2 separate regions of the Homo sapiens genome follow, and region 1 is linked to region 2. Evidence: promoter capture Hi-C in human tissues and cell types (Jung and others, 2019). All regions are on one chromosome and are shown on one strand. Each heading gives the region's core, a stretch centred on a gene start or on the middle of the fragment in contact. The rest is flanking DNA. Distances are from core to core; before and after follow the strand shown.

Region 1 (2,700 bases), core at 128-2,627, 320 kb after region 2:
ATTTGTGTTTTAAAAAAGACTTATGGCTGGGTGCGGTGGCTCACGCCTGTAATCCCAGCACTTTCAGAGGCTGAGGCAGGCAGATCACAAGGTCAAGAGATCGAGACCATCCTGGCCAACATGGTGAAACCCTGTCTCTACAAAAAATACAAAAATTAGCTGGGCGTGGTGGTGCACGCCTTCAATCCCAGCTACTCAGGAGGCTGAGGCAGGAGAATCGCTTGAACCCAGGAGGCAGAGGTTGCAGTAAGCCAAGATCACGCCATTGCATTCCAGCCTGGCAACAGAGCAAGACTCTATCTAAAAAAAAAATATATATATACAGAGGTAAAATGATTTACCTTTGGGATTTAAAAGTATTATAGACACATATATATTTGGCACCCTTTTTATATAAAATTCAAAAAGGACCAAAGGCGGCAGAGGAAGGGAGTGGTATGTTATATAAGATGAAAAAGCAAAAGACTGAAATTACAAAACTATATATTGGGGGACATAAGGCTAGTTTCAAAGAAATCCTGTTGGATGATTGCTTTCATTGTATGCGTATTGAAATTATAATGCATTTCTGGTAGGTGGCAGCCATGTAGCATGAAAGCTGGTAAATAACTATGTGGTTGGAAAACTATGAGATAACTGTCAATAGGGAATTTGAAGCTTTCTTCTTTTTTCACTAATTTTGCCTTCTACCACACTAATATATTGTCTTGACAGAGTATATTTCTTAAGGTGGAGATAAATGCTTGAGTAATTACTATGCTGTCCTCCGCTATTGTGGTAGGAGTCTGTGAAACAGTTCTCTCCCCAAAGCCTGAGGATCCCAGATCAAGTGCCTCTGTTTTTTAATCATCTGAATGTCATGTAAAGTGGTCAAAGCTTGTAGTTTTAGGCATCAACATGGCTTATAAATCTCGATAATAATTGAGTCTCAGTTTAAAGGATTGGTAGGTTGTTCGTGCCTGTGTAACCTTGACCTCTCATTGTACCCTTGATGTATCTGGGATATCCAGCACCTGGTGCCTGGCCACACTTGGTAAGATCAGGCCTATCCCGAAGAAAGTAGTCATCCTTAGTATTCTCAGGGGATTGGTTCCAGGCTTCACAAGGATTCCAAAATCTGAGGATGCTCAAGTCCCTTACTGTACTCGTTTTCTCTTCTTCATTTTTAAACTCAACATTTGCCTCAAATCAAAAGCATATTCCTTTCTCTACTTTTCACTCTTGCTTTTTTCTATTCGAATGAGATAGAGGTAGGCGTCAAACAGCTTACAATAGGTAGTAAGTTCTAAAATAACTGATTATGTCCTAATAAGATGATTTTGGAATAAGACAAATTCATACTGATGTTATGTTGACAGGGTATATTAGGGCAAAATAAACACCTCAGACTCAGAGAATTAAGCATGGGAGTCCTTTCTGTATTAATCTAAATTTAAAAATCTTTGTAGAAGCTTTGAACTAAAAATGTAAACAAATAGATTATTGATTCGGGTTTTCTTTGGGCACACTTTTTTTTTTAATTAATTGACTTTTGCTAAATTAGATAACTTTGTAGAATGTTTGAGACAAAAAAATGAATGTATGATTTTATGTGAAATTTCATTATGTAAAATTTCAGAAAGCAAAAGTGTGGGTTTTCAGTGGTGTGGTGGAGCCAGCTTGCACCAGCCCGTTAGAACTGATTGGAAATTTTGTAAACTAGTTGTTAAATATAAACATTAGTAAAAATTGAAGTAGCTGGGCAGGGTGGTATGTGCCTATAGTCTCAACTCTGTGAAACACACAGGCAGGAGTAGAGGATTGCTTGAGCGCAGGAGTTTGAGTTTAGCCTGGGCAACACAGGGGAGACCCTGTCTCTTTGTATTTATTTATTTATGTTTTTTTTTGCGATGGAGTCTCACTCTGTTGCCCAGGCTGGAATACAGTGGCTTGACCTCGGCTCACTGCAACCTCCACCTCCCAGGTTCAAGAGATTCTTGTGCCTCAGCCTCCCGAGTAACTGGGATGACAGGCATGCGTCACCACACCCAGCTAATTTTTTTGTATTTTTAGTAGAGATGGGGTTTTGCCATGTTGGCCAGGCTGATCTTGAACTCCTGACCTCAAGTGATTCGCCCACCTCGGCCTCCCAGAGTGCTGGGATTACAGGCGTGAGCCACTGCATCCTCATATTAACTTATTTAATTATAAGTACATACAAAGGTAGTAAATACTTAAAACTCAGTACTTTCTAATTAGCTTACTACATTTTACTGTTATCTATGCTCTTGAGGTTATTTATGCCTATCATATTTATATGGTAAAATAATATATAATGGCTGGCTACCGGGTGTGTCTTCCTAACTTCACATTTAGTGACATCATGTTAGAGCCTGAACTTAGCCATAAAAGAGTATTTATTTAAACCACAGGAATTGGCAAATGCTACAAATCAGGGCTTAATTTATTCTTTTGTTGATTGTGCTTAAGGAAGTGATAGAGAAAATGTTAATGCATGTCGTGTCTATAGTCATTATATTCTGAATTTCACAAAAATTAAGGAAACAGTCTTCCAATATTCAAATAAGTTTAATCCAATCAGTATTTATGTTGGAACTGTGCCCAGAAGATTATTAAACATTTATCATTATACCACTGGTTTAAGTTCATCAAATTTTATTAATGTTTTAATTAACAAATTAGAATTTAACATAAGTATTT
Region 2 (2,885 bases), core at 353-2,852:
TTGACATGAGTCTAGCCCAGATTACTGATCCAAAGGATGAGCAAATAAAATGCTTGTCTTTATGCCAAATAAAACAATGTCACAGACTCTCCCAATCTCCTTATTATTTTTTTTTTTTTTTGAGATGGAGTTTCGCTCGTTGCCCAGGCTGGAGTGCAATGGCGCGATCTCAGCTCACTGCAACCTCTGCCTCCCAGGTTCAAGAGATTCTCCTGCCTCAGCCTCCTGAGTAGCTGAGACTATAGGCGCATGCCACCATGCCCAGCTAATTTTTGTATTTTTAGTACAGACGGGGTTTTGCTGTGTTGGCCAGGCTGGTCTCGAACTCCTGACCTCAAGCGATCCATCCCCTTAAATCATGTAAAATTTCATGAGTATGTGCCATGTGCAGTTTTCTGTGAAGAAGATCCTTAATCTTCATCAGATTCTCAAAGCGATCTATGAGCCAAATTTAAAAAGTAAAGACCCATCAGCCCCAACTATGATTTCTCTTCCAGAAGCTGGCCTTCTCAGCTCTGGCTTGACTTACTGGTATAGTGTGTGGCTGGCTTTGGAAAGAAAAGGAAACTCTATTTACATTATCTGTATCCCAGCATCCTCACCTCTTCCATGAGTCTAGCTGAGTAAGAGTTTGGATGTTAGTTCCCATCTTTTCCTGTGTATTCATTATAATGCATGGAACTATGAGAGTAATTCCCATGTTAAATGTGGCCAGAGAGGTCGGCAGACCAAGGAGCAAGTTACTGTCCTCCCAAATTACCATTACACTTCCACAGAAAGTCCTCTAAAAACTTGCCACAGACATTACCAAACTGTCACCCTTTATTGTTCCAAGTCAAAGCAGACCAAGTACACCTCAATACCAAAGCTTTTCTCCCAGAAAAAAAAAAAAAAAAAAACAGGAACTCAGAGTCGGCAAAGACTCTCCTAAAACATCTGTCCTGGCCAGCTCTTCATCTGGATCGGTGCTGACAGAAACAGAAACGCCAGGGGCCGGAAATGCGGCCAGCGCGATGCCCCTCTGTTCTGGGCACCGTTTATTCGAATACCCCGTCAGGTATCATCAGGTGTCACTCAGGAAGGAGACACGCCCTGCCTGGACTGCCGCGAACGCTGAGCGTTACGGGGTACGTGGTGGCCCCTCAGGTTACCGACCGGGTCGGTTAGATTCCAGAGGACAAAAGGCAGGGAACAGCCTGGTCTTGGGGTCTTTAAACAGAGAGGCGCCATCTACTGCCGAGAACCCAGTCAACATCTCATGGACAAAGCTGCACTAACCCCCGGCCGGCTGAGCTCTGGGCCCCGTTAGCCTTTCTTTGAGGCTCGTCCACTAAAAGGCAGCCCCAGTAGTCCCAGCTGAAATGCTCCACACCCGAGCCCCGCTGGCCTGCGGAAGCGAAGACTGACAAGCACTCTGTCCGCGCGCTGAGTGGGGGCTCGCGGCACCGGGTGCTCCGCCCAGGCCCCAGCACACTCACTCACCAGCCTGGTAGCTCGGTACGGCCCGGGCCCCACGATGCGATGCTCCATGGCGCGTAGGCAGCAGCGGCCGCAGCCGCGCCAGCGCTGATCCCCGCCAGCCGGAGGAGCAGCAGTTTGAATCCCAAGCCCGCGGGCTGCGGGCGCTGATTGGGCGGCGCGGCAGCACGTCACCGGAAATGCGCGGGGAGGCAGGCGTCTTCTCCGAGACCCGCGGCGCTGGGAGCTCCGCGTGCGAACTTGCCCGGGGCGAAATCTGTTGCCCACCCTGGTCCCACCGTGCGAGCACACCTAGGCAGGTGCGACTAAGGGGCCGGGGGCGTCTCCCCAGCGCTGGAAAACGCTGTGCAGCGCCCTTCCCAGATTTCTGCGTCCGCGCAACACAAACACACGCAACGCTATCTCTACAAAAGGGTCAATAATAGGTGTTATCCAGCGACCGAAACCCAGCTTTGGGCCGCGTGGATAAATACCTGTCCTCCCTACCAAGTGCACTGTGAGCCTGGAGGTGCTGCTAACGCTGGGAGAAGCGGTAGTGAAATGAAGCGAGGCGACAGCTTTTACCAGTGTAGGGACATTTAAAAACGGGATAGAGAGCACAAGGAGCGTAGACAGTGTGTTAAGGGCAATAAAGAGCGGGAAGGGAGCCCCGATTCCTCTTCTGTTTGTTCTCATGATAGTCTTTTCCCCTTTAATTTGAGTTCTATGTTTTGTATTGGGCTGATACTTTTAGTCCTCGGCAATAGGGTTGTGAGTCCTTTTTTGACTGCTTAGAATTTTCCCCCTGGGAATTGCTAGTCCGATTTGCAATCTTTCAGAGGGACAAATGAAGTAACTCCATATACTTAGGACTCTGTACACCTACTCAAATTTGGTCATCTCGGTAAGTACCCAGGACAAGACGTTGAAGGAGTGAAGGTGTGCCATTCCAAAATATGCCTAATTGGTATATTGATTATTTCGAGCGGAAAACATTGGAGAAATGGTAGTTTCAGAAAGGGCAAGCTGACCTGCCTCTTCGATGCAGCAGGCCACAAAGATTTCTCTGGGATGGGCATCCTCTCCCTACCACGGTGAGAAAATAGCCTTTATCACCAAAGGCTTGGAATTGAAGGCTGCAGTGGACCTGAATAAACATTCTTAACGAAGTAACCCTATCTTCCACTAGGAGATATAGGAGATTTTTTACATATATCTTCTAGTGACTCCCTAGAAAATGTTACTGCCTTTGTGAGCTGTGGAAGTTAACTCGAGTCACAGGGCACCAAAATATGTTAGCAGCTGCCCATATCCGAGACACGGCCCCAAAGTATGTTACAGGCAGTGAATTCCTACAGATCTGCAGCAACCTCAATTCTTGACTCCTCAGAAGAAAGAGTTCGACTGAGGGGCATAAGGCAAAAGGA

The links. The method cuts DNA at HindIII sites, captures the fragments that hold promoters and counts their contacts. A contact is called where the count stands out against the background at its distance.
Region 1: a fragment that was not itself captured here is called in contact with the fragment with the promoter of DEPDC1B in region 2 in 1 of the 25 tissues and cell types used here (lymphoblastoid cells).

Annotation. Positions count from the first base shown.
Region 1 is chr5:61,015,882-61,018,581 of GRCh38, forward strand. All of the region lies in intron 1 of NDUFAF2 (NADH:ubiquinone oxidoreductase complex assembly factor 2), which reads left to right. Among named protein-coding and RNA genes, the nearest start is that of NDUFAF2, 72 kb to the left of the region's middle. The HindIII fragment of the contact is 4,704 bases long and covers 1-2,700 here.
Region 2 is chr5:60,698,564-60,701,448 of GRCh38, forward strand. It overlaps DEPDC1B (DEP domain containing 1B), which reads right to left and starts at 1,603. Exons shown (of 11, transcript NM_018369.3): 1 at 1,483-1,603. The coding sequence starts at 1,530. It overlaps LOC124900982 (a long non-coding RNA gene), which reads left to right and starts at 1,677. Exons shown (of 2, transcript XR_007058779.1): 1 at 1,677-1,778. The HindIII fragment of the contact is 4,370 bases long and covers 1-2,885 here.